Linked DNA regions of Homo sapiens: region 2 is linked to region 1. Evidence: promoter capture Hi-C in 16 types of primary human blood cells and fetal thymus (Javierre and others, 2016). All regions are on one chromosome and are shown on one strand. The core of a region is centred on a gene start or on the middle of the fragment in contact, and the rest is flanking DNA. Distances in the headings are between cores, read along the strand shown.

Region 1 (6,938 bases), core at 2,977-5,476:
CCCACATCCCTGCCTTGACAGCTGCTCCTGAGAAGCCAGCCACCCCGGCTCTCATCTGGATCTTCCCAGCCACTGCCAAGCTGGCTCAATTCTCTCTGCCAACCTGGGTCCTCCCCCAGCTGTCAGAGTAACCTCTTGGTAAAATGCACATGGGATATGTGTGTGGAAGGTGAAAGCCTGCAATTGTTTTCAGAGGGAGGCACAGATCCCTGGGAGAGCAGGCACAATAGCCCGCTACAGCCCCCACCTTTCGCGACCTGCTGTTCAGAGACCTGTGTGCTTCCTTTAGGAGATAGCGCTGGCCTTGCATAAAATACATTTTTTCTCCCACTGTATCAGCAGGGACATCCTGACATCTCACCCCGTGAAAACATTCAGCTCCAAATTCAGTATCTCAGCAAGCCCTTGGTCAGTTGGGCACCCGCAACCTAATGGCAAATAGAAAACACCCTCACCGCAGGGAGGAGTGGAGAGAGAACAACCCACCCCCGCCGACCACAGCAGAACACAGCGAGCAGTGGGCTCACATCCCCAGGAGGACAGCGAGGCTGCCACCTGACTGCAGTACGTGCCTGGGTCCGCACCCTGGTCAGCCGCCCCTCCTCTCTGGGTAACGCCCCTTTTTCTATTGCCCTCCTCCGACACCCTGGGTGCCCCGCCATGCAGGATGCCCCTTCTATGGGTCAGGCCTCTGAAGCAGTCCCAGGACTGGTGGCTTGGTGTGGGGTGAGAGCCGAGGACTCCCTCAAGGGTTACACCATTGCCATCCCCTGCGTTTTTGGGTAGGAGTTAAGGTGATGGTGTGATTCCTTAATAGACTTATTTAGGTTTCAAAATCTAAACTCCTGTCAGTTCTGGCTAGTAATCAAAACCAGCCCATCAACAACAACAACAAAATCGTCAATCCGTAGCGTGTGTTGCGATCCAGAGCAGAGCTTTCTGTTCCCTAGCAACCGAATTCAGGCTGCGCTCACCCCCCATCCTCAATTTCCATCTTGGTCTCTCTCTCCAGGCCTCTGGAAACAAGGCCGGGATGGGGCTGGACCAGGCACCTGCCCTTGCCTTCGGGCTGCCCGGGGGTGGTGTCTTTGTAATTACCTCAAGGTTGCTGTCCCAGGGAGACCCCATCTCTTCAATCTGATCTCGGACCCCACACCTCCCCCCTGCCTCCCCACTCCTCAGGTCCGTCTACTTGTAACCTGGGGTGGAGAATTCACCTTTTCTAGCGTCACCATTTTCAGACTCTCCACCATTCTAGACTCCAAGTCATAAGCACCAAGGGCTCCCCTTCCATTCCCTTTTTCTGGAAATATTCAGCATGTAATGAACCAGGCACTGCTCTCCCATAGCCCAAGGTTCCCCGCCATAGCCCTAATGTTGCGAGCACAAAAACCTCAGTGTCTGAGTTCCTGGATACAGCAGGCCGGGTACCGCACTGCACCCCTTCTCCTCTGCTTGGGAGCCCTCCCCAGCCACCCCATTGTCACCACAGCCCCTGTCCTTTGGCAAGAAGCCTCCAATATACCCTCCCAAAGTCAAGGTAGACTGCATCTCTCTTCAAACCATATTTTTTAAAGAAAGAAAATTACTATAAACCAAATTATTGGGAGGGCAACCAGCATTTCAAAAATGAATTAGGATACAATAGAAAACATCAGAGTATTTTTGGGGTAAATATTGCTTCGGAAAGTTTCACTCCAAGCATGTTTGTGCATGCGTGTGTGCATGTGTGTTAAAGCATGTGTGTGCATGTATGTGCGTGTGTGTGGATGTGTGTGCCTGTGTGTTCACGTGCGTGTGTGTGTTCATGTATGTGCATATATGTGTGCATGTGTGTGTGTGTTTGTCCTAAGGATGGACCAAAAGGGCCTGGAAACCAGTCTCCTGGAAGCCTTCCCTGGCACACACCTTGCTGTGTTCTAGAGTGTGATTTTAGGGTAAATGCTCCTCTCTTGTGCTCCAAGAGTGCTCTCCTCTCCCTCCCATCGTGACGCTTGCCACACTGCACTGGAATTGTTTGTTTCCTTGTCTGTTTCTCAAACTGACTGTCACTTTCCAGGGGGACAGAAAATCTATGTCTTGTTGGCTTCCCCAGTCCCAGTGCCTGGCCCAAGTAGTTGCTCAATAAACAGAGGTTGAATGAAGGAATGTCTGGCACAGGAGTTCGGGATGGACAGGATGAATTGGAATCTGTAACATTTTAAAAGCCACATCCTTTTTAGCAGGAAAAAAGGCTTCAATGAAAGGAATGAAATTGTAAGGGTGGAGACCTGGGCATCAATGGCTGACTCCACAGAATCCCATTGAGGGAGCCCCTCCCTGCCAGGGTCCCAGGCCCACCCTGCACATCCAGAGGCAAGAGGTACGTCCCTCATGGCCACCCCAAAGTTGTCAGGAGCCCCAACTTCTGCAGAATCACCTCCCTGCCAGGAAAGAGAGCGGGGAGAAGCTGCAGTTGAGAAGATACTAAACAGGAAAGTCAGCGTTTTAATTAAACAGGATTCAAAATTGATGGGAGAAAACAAGCATGGACACAATCATATTAACACAAGAATCCCGTCAGAGCCCCTGGCAAGGAAGCTTCAGTGCACAACAACCACTGGGACGGGGGTTAGAGGACTCGCAGTGAGAGGCTGCCTTTCTTTGCTCAGTTTCTCCTAAAGTGTTGTGTGTGTGTGGATGGGAGAGTGTGTGTGTGTGTGTGTGTGTGTGTGTGTGTGAGAGAGAGAGAGAGAGATTCAAGGAAAATATGTGTGTGTGTGGTGCTGTGTGTGCATTGGGGCATGAATGCTTGCATGCATGAGTTGTGGGTGAGTGTACGGCTGGGGACAGTCCACATCCCTTCACCTCCCTGGACCAGGCCTCAAGATGAAGGGATGATGCTTCTTCTCCCTGGTTGCTCAATCTGACTTGCAGGCCCTCTACTGGCTCCTCAGAAAAGGGTCTCCAGCGCCAAAAGAATCTCCTGGGGTGCTCAAGCCCCCAGCCCTATGCAGGATGGAGAATATCTTGTGAGTTCCAGAGGAGGGGTTCTATTAGTCGTGTGCACGAACCTGCAGGAAGGCAGAGCTTGGGGTGGTGCTGTGGCAGCTACCGGCAGGGGCCAGAGCCTCTCCAGGCAGCAGGGCCATCTGGACATCCTGGACTGGGGAGCGTATCTCCTGGGCTGTAGAGGGAGGTGCAGAGGGGACATGACTAGGAGGGTTGGAGATGGGGAAAGTGTCCTTGTGTCCTTACAAGGCTCATTTTCCCCCCATCCTTTGCTTGTTATAGGAGTGAACCTGTCTTGCAGATGATCGTTGACTATGCAGGTAAAATAGATTGCGATCATTGTCATCCTGCTCAGAAAACCCACCTGGATAGGACCAGTCCTGGGACTGGGAGCCCGGAGACGCCACTGAGAGCCGGTCCTGCAGGGACTCCAGGGAGATGAACCAGGAGATGGCTCAGCAAGGACCAGGCAGTGGCAGAGGTGCCCGAGTAGAGTGATCGTGGGGCAGAGGACTGAGGGAAAGTGCGTGCCTGTGCCTGGCAGTGCCGCCCCAGGTGGAGGAGGAGCCCTCAGGGTGGTGGGCTTCCGATGAAGGGTGACTCTGCTGGGGTCTGAGGCTGTGCTCCCAGTGGACTCAGGGACCCCACTGCACAAGCCCGATTTTGGGTAACAGGGCACACCTAGGGAACAGGCCCAGAGCACCCTCTCCTTGGAATAAACTCCGGATCCAAGTCCCAGAACCCACCTTAGGAGGCGTCTGCCGCCCCCGCCCCCTCCCCAGCCTTCCAGGCCCTGGCTGCGGTGGATGGGGGCGCGGAAGGCCCAAGTGCGCGAACTTCACCTGGCCCGGCCGTCCTCCCCGTGGGGGGCCCAGGCTGCGGGCGCGTCAGGCCGTCTCTGTCGCCATCCGGAGGAGCGGCTTGGGCGCCGCGTCCCCTCTGCCAGGCCCGGGTCGGCGGGCGGCTGGAGCCCCCAGCGGTGGCGGGCGCGCGCCTCTCTCGCGGATGCCGGGGCGCGCGTAGCCGGGGCGCGCAGTGACGCCCAGAGCGGGGCCGGCGTCCCCCTGGCGGGCCGGCGCGGGGTCGGCGGGCGCGGGCGCGAGCGCGGGCGGCGCGGGCGCGGCGCGGGGCGCGGTGGGCCGGGGCCCGGGCGCGGCGGCGGCGGCGGCGGAGGATGGCGCGCGCGGGGCCCGCACGTGGAGGCCGGCGCGGGGGCGCGGGCAGGGCCGGCTGCTGAGACGCGCTGCTGCCCCCCGCGCGGGCGCCGCGGCTTCAATGGCGCCATCGCCCAGGACCGGCAGCCGGCAAGATGCGACCGCCCTGCCCAGCATGTCCTCAACTTTCTGGGCGTTCATGATCCTGGCCAGCCTGCTCATCGCCTACTGCAGTGAGTACCGCGCGGCCCCGGCCCCGGCACGGCCCTCTGGGCCCCGGACCCCCTCCTCCGGCCCCGGCAGGCGCCCCGCGGGCCTCCCGGAGTCGGCGCGGAGTTACGAGCGCCGGGCGCATGGTCCCCCGAGTCCCGGCCGGTCCAACGCTGCGCTGGGCGGGCGAGAGGGTCCACCCGGGTTCCGGGCGCTCGAGCACTTCGGGGTCGGACGCCCCGGCCCGAGCCTCCCTTCCCTGACTCCCCGGCAGGGCCCGGGCTCCAGGCCCCGGGTGGCGCGGCCCGTCCCTGCCCGGCGGTCGGAGCCCAGCCAGCGGCTTCCCGGCCGAGATGCGCGCTCAGGAGGCAGCCGCAGGTCGCGGAGGGCGGGCGGCGCTGCCGGGGTGTCTGCGGAGCGCCCTCCCCGTGCCTCAGCCCGGGACAAGGGGGGAGGCGGCGGCCGAGCCCGGAGAGGAGCTCTTCAGGCAGGAGCCCAGCCTGGGCTCGGAGGAGCAGCTGGAGCTTCCGCTTTCCCGGGAAACGGGCTCGTCAGGCGCCTTCTGGAAAGAGAAGCGAAGTGAGGGATGGGATGCCCGGAGGGGGCTCGCCGCGGCCGCGGACGTTTCTCGGGTCGTGTCTGGGGCCCGAGCTGGTGACCGGCGGGACTGGCGCGGGCGCGGGCTGGGGTGGTGCGGGCCAGTGGGCGCCCGGGCGTGAGCTGAGGGCTGGGGTAGGGGGTGACCGCCGCGGGCTCCCTGTTGCCTGGAGTGAAGGGTGGGGGGTGGCCTGTGCCCCTGCCGAGGCTCCAGGCGGGTGGAATGAGGGGTGGTTGGAGTCCCGGGTGCAGACTCCAGCCTCGGCGCTGGGGAGGGTGCTCAGCATCCCGGGGCACGTTCGCGGCTGGTGGGGTAAGTGGGGGCCGCTCAGCGTCCCGGGCACAGGCTCTGGCCCCAGATGGCGCGGGCTGGTCGGCTTCAGCTCCGGGAGCTCCGGGCTTCTTGTCTTCAGCGGGAGAATAGGACGGGTGCTGGGGAGCACCTGTCATGGAGAATTGCCATGGGCGCGGGAGGTGATGGAAAAATATGGATTCTTTACAAAAAAAAAAAAAAAAGGCCAGCACCGAACCTCCCTCCACAGACACCACCTCCTCCAGAGCCCCGGGCCTCCAAGCTCCCAGTCCGATCTGATCCTTCCGCTGTCGCCAAAATGAGAGCACAGTGGCCCAGGGAGACCCGGGCAGCCGCGGGATCGGCCTCCGGAGTCCTGGGACAGCCCAGCTCGCCAGGATCGCAAGGGAAACCCGGGGACCAGAGCAGGAATTTTCCTACTTGCTTCAGCGCGGTTATGCATTTCCCTAGAAATGCTGTGGCACCGAGCGGGGAGGGGTCGCCAAGCCTGGGGGTCTCAACCCGAGCTGCCCAGGCAGACGAGGCCACCGTGGGTGCGCCGGCGCCCCTGGGAACTCACTGGCTGGCCGCCTGCAGGGAGCAGGGTCTGGGGGTTTGAGCGACATTTGTGCCTGCCCCCGAGTTTTCCGCGGCCGTCACGGGGCCTGCAGGGGTATGTGGGGGGATTCCCTAGAAGATCCCCAAGCAAGGCTTCCTAGGAGATGTAGAAAGGGTTAATGGCAGGTAAACTCTGTGCGGAAGAGGAGGCATTTGAATGCACTTCCTGGTGGCATCACCCCAGAGGAGAGGAGAGAGAGGAGAGGAGAGGGAGAGGGGGCTCATTCAGCAGTGTTTGGGGAGGGGCTGTAGTGCCCTGAGCCCACTACAGGCGGCCCATCCCTGGCTGGCTGCTAGAACCCAGGACAACACCTCACCCCCAACCCCCAGCAGCTCAGCAGGTGTGGAAAAGAACAACTGCTAATTGTTGCGAAGTACTTGACACCAGGGCCCTGTGGCTTCAACACCGCACTTCCCGAGCCCGCGAGGAGCGCGGTACACACTGTCTCAAGACACGCAGCGTCAGCCCTCTCCCACCCTGCGCTGCATCCTGAATCCTAAGGTGTCAGCACGTTGTTCATCCGGACGGGCTCACACCTTCCTGAGACTGTCGCCTGCTCTGCCGAGTGGAGTCCTGGTGTCCCAGCACAGACATCTGAGCCTGCTGCTTAGACACGCTGAGGATGGGAGATCTGGTTTCCACACTCATCCCTCCTCCTTAGGAGGCCTCCCCAGCGTTCTGGAAACAGCCTTTCGCCAGGACAAGGACAATTGGTAAGAAGGTCTTACCAGAGTAGCAGAAATAATTAATAACAGAAGCTTGGGTGAAGCACATTTTTTATGGCTGTTTCCATCTCCATGTAATGGAATAATTGACAATAAGAGACACACCCCATTACACCAGAAATGTACTTGGAGAAATTAAAACATTTCACTAAAATACAAAATAGACATAATAATAATTTATAGCTTGGAACTGCAGTCCTAGAGAAAAAAAATCCCCCCCCCTTTTTTCAGAACCGATAAAGCAAATTAAATGCAAATTAAACAGTTCCTAGGATTTTCATTCTTTCTTCCAATAGATCTGGGATGAAGAAGAATAGTTCGTATTCTCGTTTGTAAATTGTTTTTGTCAT
Region 2 (6,904 bases), core at 421-2,920, 980 kb before region 1:
TGTGCCCCTTTCACCATGTGAGGATGCAGTGAGACGGTGGCAGTCTTCAACCTAGAAGAGGCCCTCACAGAACCCAACCATGCTGGCACTCTGACCTTGAACTTCCAGCCTCCGGAACGATGAGAAATAAATTTCTGTTGTTTACAAGCCACCCAGCCTATGGTGGTTTCTTATAGCAGCCTGAATGGACGAAGATATCTTTCTTTTGAACTTTGAGGGACTTAAAAGCCAAGACTATGTAGCCATTTCCCAGTCCAGAAACCTCTATAAATCTGAGGAGTTCTTTAGAAGACCATGACCCAATACTTCCGCATTTCTCATACAGGCAGCACTAAAATAGACAGTGTCAAATGAAAACAAATGTGTATTGAACTAAGGAGAGACTTCATTCAAAAGGATTATTGTGATAAAGGGAAGGGGGCTATTGCAGTAGGGGGAACAATCTGACAGTAATAGCTGCAGGCATCTCAAAGTTCTGTTGGAAAGAAACTTTCTTTTATGGGGAGAACCAGACAAGGCCAAAAAATAATTGGGTGTGGGGGAGTGGGTGGTGAGATCAGAGTTGATCAGTTGGGGAAAGTCTTTCCTTGCAGTCATCTAATTCTGGGGAGGGGCTGTTTGCTGGCTCAGGCTGAAGGAGGTTCAACATTCCGGGTCCTGAGGGAGTGGAGGAGCTGAACTAAAGTTTAATCAAGTCAGTTAACAAGTACTTTGTTCTGACTGATCAGTGGGATAACAGTTCAGGTTATCATTAAGAGGTGCAGAATGAGAATTTGGAGGGTGTATCTGGCCTTGTCTTAGGTAAACAAGGGAGCATCCATGAGTCTTATCTGAGTCATGTGGGGAGGGGATCTTCTTTGTCATAAGCAGTTTCCTGGAACACAAAAGGGTGAGATGATTTCCTAATACTCATTGCTTTCCAGGAGCTTAGGGCTCAGGTAAAGTCCAACGTTGTCAACAACTTAGGTCCTGATGGTGATGATGATGGTGATGGTGATGATGATGATGAGGATGGTGATGATGATGGCAATAATGATGATGATGATGATGGTGATGATGTGATGGTGATGATGATGATGGTGATGAAGATGTGATGGTGATGATGATGATGGTGATGAGGACAATGGTGTTGATGGTGATGATCATAATGATGATGATGACTGATAATGGCGATGATGATGGTGATAATGATGGTGATGATGATGGTGGTGATGATGGTGATGATGGTGATGGTGCTAATGATGGTGATGATGATAATGATGGTGATGGTGTTGATGACAATGATCATAATTATAATGATGTGACATTCTTATAAGTTTTTCGTGTGTGTTATTTGAATTACAAGGTAAATACTACCATCCAACTTTATAGAACTGAAACACAGATGATTAATTAACTTGCTCAAGGTTCTGCCACTGCCTGCTTTGCAGAAAGTTGGGTTTACACCAGGTGACCCTGTTCCAGCACCCACCATCTTGCTACTGTGCTCCACTGTTTCTAAAATGGGTCAAAGAAGAGTATAGCTTAGTATAGCCCCAAGGCCATACTGCCTGCCAAGCCCCAAATGAACCCTGTATTCTAATTCCTATTATAGCTGATCAGAGATAATTCCACAAACATTACCAATGACAGCACAAATTATCCCAGCTTTGAACAATTTGAACTCACTTTTACTAATACATTCCCACCAATGCATGAAGTCCCTGAATTAGTTTCCTAAATGTGCTGTAACAATTAACCATAAACATGGTGGCTTAAAGCAACAGTTTATTCTCTCACAATTCTGGAGGCCAGAAGTCAGAAACCAAGGAATCAGCAGGGCCATGCTCCCTGTAGATGCTTCAGGGGAGAGCCTTCTTGCTTTCTCCAGCCTCTGATGCTCCTGGCATCTTTTGGTTTATGGCTGCACCACTCCAGCCTCTGCCTTCATCTCCATGTGGCCTTCTCTCCTGTGTCTCTGCCTCAAATCTGCTTTCCTCTTATAAGGATTTGGGGCCTACCTTAATGAAAAATGAACACCCATCTTGAGATTTCTTAACTTAATTACATCTGCGAAGACTCTATTTCCAAATACAGTTGCATGCACAGGTTTCAGGAATTGAGGCATGGATGTATCTCTTTGGGGCCACCATTCAAACCACTGTAGTCCCAAATGAAATTCCTGCTGTAGCTCAGCCAGAAGGGTCTCCTTCAGAGTATTGGTGAGGAACCCATCTGCAAAACATTCTCTGGAGTGGGCAGATTACTTCAGCACTTCCACGTGGAAGAGAATAGGAACCTCAGGTCCCAATGGGGTCACGCTTCTCCTTCAGCTCTTCCCAGTGGGGAGAACGGGAACCCAGGCTCCAGTGGTTCCACCTCCTCACACTCCAGAGGGGGAGCAGGATGCCCCAGAGCCCCCTGGGCAGCCTCTCACCTGCAGGGCTGAGATTTGGAAGCAGTCAGCCACCATGTTTACTAAGGAAAGTGGCACTCCACTGCTGCTATGGTGGGCCATGGTGCAGGTGACAGTGGTAGCCAGAGAGCAAAGAAGAAAGAACAGAAAAAAAAATCTTGGATCTTGGTTTCAAACTTGTGAAGACATTCAGTTTCTTCCACTTGCCTGGATTCCAGGACTGTGAACATAACCCAACAGGGAAATGTCTTCCACCAGGAAGTGGGTCAAGTTGCTGTCTGATTTTCTTGAACCTGGTGGGAGCCTAAGGTTTCTCCAGCTCATATGGCTGTGGGAGACAGACTTAGAGTCTTCAGAGCTCAGAGAGAAACCAGCAAAGCTGTCACACCCGCAGCCCTGAAGCCATTGCTAGGCTTTGTCCTTCCATAGGTTGCCTCTCTCTCTAAGGGTCTTGTTAACTTTCATGACATCAGCTGCATCTTACATGTTCCTTTCTTTTTTCTGCTTTACTTTTGCAAACACACCTGTCTTTTGGTCACACCAGACAGGTAGGATTGGACGTGGACTTGGGAAGGCTGGGAAATAAAGGAGGGATCCCTGATCCCTGAAGTCTCAGTGTCCCCTGTCCATGAAAAACACTCTTGCACTGAGCCCAAGGCTGCTGCCTCTGCTGGCTGCAGAGAGAACTGTCCCATCCTCGAATGAATGATTTTTCTCACAAAATACTGACATATACAAGACTGCAAGTCTATGCCTGCAGAAGAACCTTGGATACCTCATGAGACCCACTGCACCCAATGCGAACAGCTCTACGTGCACCTGTGGAACCTCGCTGGTTACTGAGATGCTTGTTTCCATGTGAGCTTAAGGTAGAGTTAAGAAAGAAAGTCCTAACAAAGGAGGGACCCCTTATGTCCTAATCCTCCTCCCAGCCTTCCAGCTTGAGGGAGTCGTACGCACAGGTGCTTTTTTAGAGAACTGTGCTTAGGCCTGGAGTCCTAACAATTCTTCCTGGGACTCTATTTTGTGACCTATTTACAAAAAAACATGCTTACAGAGAAGGAAGGGTCAGGAAGAACAGTGTCCACTGCTTCTGCCGAGGTTTGAAGATAAAACCTTTATAATCCAGTAATTTGGAAATCAGGTTTGATTGGATTCGATTGATTGATCTTTTAAAGTGTGAAGGGACAAAAAAAATCACCACCCCCCCACCCACAGACACAATCACACACACACAATTCCTATGTAACCTTCTTTAGATATCATTTGGAGATATATGCCAGTCAAGCAACAGATGAAACAAATTAAGAGCTCAATAATGATAAAGTGATGGCAGAACAGGATTTGTTCTGAGAATTAGAATTCTCTAAATATAGAATCATTTTTGAAATTCTGAAGGAAAAAAATATTGTACATTATATACATAATTTACGTATGTATTTAAAGAGAGAGTAGCATAAGAGTTTGCTGAGTCATGTAACATAAGTTTAGATGTCAGCCCTCTGGAGATGGTATGGCCTCTTCATGACGCTGCTGGAGATGATATCCCTGCTTCTCTGTCCTGGCTTCACAGTCACTTACTGATCCCTTAGCCTTTACCCTCACAGGGTCCTGGAGTCCAAGATGACTGTGGGAACTGGAGGGCAGCAGGGGAAAGAAGGGAACACAATGATGCCCTGCTAGTGGATGCCCTTCCCTAGGTCCCATTCAACAACTTCTTCTGTCTCCTTGGCCAGAAAGCCACATGACTATCCCTGCTTAAGGGTAGATGGAGCTATTGAGCTGGACACCCTGATGTCTTACATATAAGTGTTTTTGTTTTTCACCAAGGATGAAAGAGAGAATGGTATCTGTGGTCACCTACCCATTTCTGCCATTGAGGGGCAATAATAGATCAGGCAAAAGATTCACAGTCATTCCAATATTAATATCAAAGAAGAATTCATGACAAGACACATCACAAAGCAGAGCTTATGATTTTACAGAGATAAAAGCTAAACTCACAGACACAGAAAACTTTGTGAACAACAGATCATTATGTATAATAGTAATAAAGAGTATTAGATAAGACATGGAGAGACTGGCAATAGCACAATGGTAACAAAATTATTTACACAATTGTTTCCCTTTGTAGCATGTAAGATAAATCATCATAATAAATTATAAATAATGACTCATATTAAGGCAATATAGGATCTAATTGTCATTAATTAGGATAATTTATGCATTCACTCCTCAAATAAATACTAATGGAGTGCCTACTATGTGCCGGCCAATGTTTGTGTGCTGGGGCACAGCAGTGTGAAACCATCCCCTGTCCCTATGTAATGTGCATGCTGGGAAAGGTTGATTGGAGACATACTGAAATATGAATCATGTAGAGAATATCTCTTCTTTTCCAGAGCTGTTGAAGCATTTATAAAATTTGATGAACTCTTAAACCATAAAAACCAGCAATCTCTTATAAAAAGCAGAAATTGTTCAGATTACTTTTGCAAGCTACAATGTCATAAAGCCAGAGAATAATAAGACGATTTTAGAAAGATGGAATATAAATGTTCTCTTAACTATTAGCAAAGAGAAGAAGAAGAAAGAAAGAAAGAAGCCAATATTTCAATTATAGACTATGTTGAACGCTATGTACCCAAGCTTATGGCATTCGACCAGAACAATCCTCAAGGGAAAATGCATAAGCAGGAATTACTTTATTATCTAAAACAGAAAATGACATTATAAATATAGCAATTATATTTGTCAGCTTTGGGTGTATAACAAAGCACCCCAAAACTTACTGGTTTAAAGCAACCACTAGGTTGAGCTCTGCTGGACGGCTGCGTCATTCCTTTGATCTGGGTTGGTGTGGCTGGTTTCTGTTGGTTCTTTCATATGTCTGGTCAGCTGGTGGGCAGGATAGCTGATCGAGAATCGCCTTATCTAGATAGCTGATCTAAAATCACCTTATCTACATATCTAGTGGTGGGCAGGTTGTTGGCTGGGGCACATTAGTTCTTCTTTGTGTGTTCTTTCTCTAGCAGGTCAGCTTTGGTTTATTCTTATGATGGTCTCAGGGTTCCAAGTGCAGCAACAAAGAGCAAGTTCCAGTACAGAAGCGCTTTCAAGTCTCTGTGTCATGTTTCTTATTAACCTGTGGGCCAAGGCAAGTCACATGGGAAAGCCCAGAGTCAGTGTGGGAAGGGACTACCCAAGGGCAAGGATACAGACAGGGCCATTGTTATAGTCATTCTTGCTAACAATCTATTTCTGACTTTTAATGAAAACACATAGAAAACCACAAAAAACAATGTTACAAAAGCAGAAAAAAAATTAAATAATAAAGATACAAGCAGAAACAAGTGGTATAGAAGATAGAAAAGGCGTAGAGTTGGTGAATATATTCGAGAGCTTATTCTTTGTAATAAAAACAAGAAAATCAATAAACATCAGCAAACATGAACCACAAAACAGAATGAAACACAAATCTAGTAAAAGCAAAACTATTGTGACAGAAAGTAGGTCAGTGATGGCCAGAGGCTGGTGTTGAGTGGACGGGGTTGATTGCAATGTATGTGAGGGAAATTTTGGGGTGATGGAACTATCTGATATTTTGGTAGTGGTGGTGATTACATGACTATACAGATTTATCACATTAAATTGTATCTTTAATATTGGAAAAAAATTTTCATTTCCATTTATAGAGGACTAATTTGCTTTAGACCATTCCTTCCACTGATAACAAAGATAACAGCTTGGGGAAATATAAAAGTAATCTATTGGAAAATATCAGAAACTATGGAGACTGTCAGGACTTGGGTGGTTAAAATTCTAGGGATAATTTCTAGAGAGAAACAGAGAGCAGAACCTAACATTTGGCAGTTTTTTCCTTTCAAGGTATTTGCTGATTTGCTAGCTGTGGCTAAAAGGCTGAGAGACTGACCAGAGATTTTACAAACCCATGGAGCTCTGGGAACAAAATTGGAGTTCATGGCTTGTCAAAATGAGAGACTTGATAAACATTGAGGATTTCAGCAGAAAACTCCAATATTCTATGCTCTGGGGTACACGTAAAGCCTTCACAAAGCTTTCACAAAGAGAAAAGCTCTCACAAAGACTCAGGGCCAACTTTCAATTATCTTCATCTCAGAGATCTGCTTTACCTGAGTTGCCTGCAAAATTAAAAAGTATTGCCTCTGCAGAATGGCCACATCATCCAGAGGCTCAAATGACCTCTACAATATTCCAAGTACAATGCCCAGCATTCAATAAAGATAAACAGCCATTGACTGGATATTTAGTTAAAGAAAACAATGGAAACAGACTCATGGGAAATCTAGTTATTAAATGTGTCAGAACAATAAAATAACTGTTTTTAGTGTGTTCAATAAATTAAGATACCAAGATCATGTTATCAGGAAACAGGAAACTTTAAAAAGCTACAATAAAAATTCTAGAACACCAAACAAGGAAAATAAAGATTTCAAAACACTTTCAAAAACTCAAAAATTTTGTCAG

What was found. Contacts are between HindIII fragments. The CHiCAGO score rates a contact against its expected background, and 5 or more counts as called.
Region 2: a fragment that was not itself captured here is called in contact with the fragment with the promoter of TAFA5 in region 1 in 1 of 17 cell types (naive B cells); the score reaches 6.3 in naive B cells.

The regions. Positions count from the first base shown.
Region 1 is chr22:48,485,327-48,492,264 of GRCh38, forward strand. It overlaps TAFA5 (TAFA chemokine like family member 5), which reads left to right and starts at 4,227. Exons shown (of 4, transcript NM_001082967.3): 1 at 4,227-4,378. The coding sequence starts at 4,267. RefSeq lists an enhancer at 6,305-6,810. The HindIII fragment of the contact is 4,041 bases long and covers 2,579-6,619 here.
Region 2 is chr22:47,511,705-47,518,608 of GRCh38, forward strand. No RefSeq gene overlaps it. Among named protein-coding and RNA genes, the nearest start is that of LINC01644, 28 kb to the left of the region's middle. The HindIII fragment of the contact is 6,744 bases long and covers 1-5,042 here.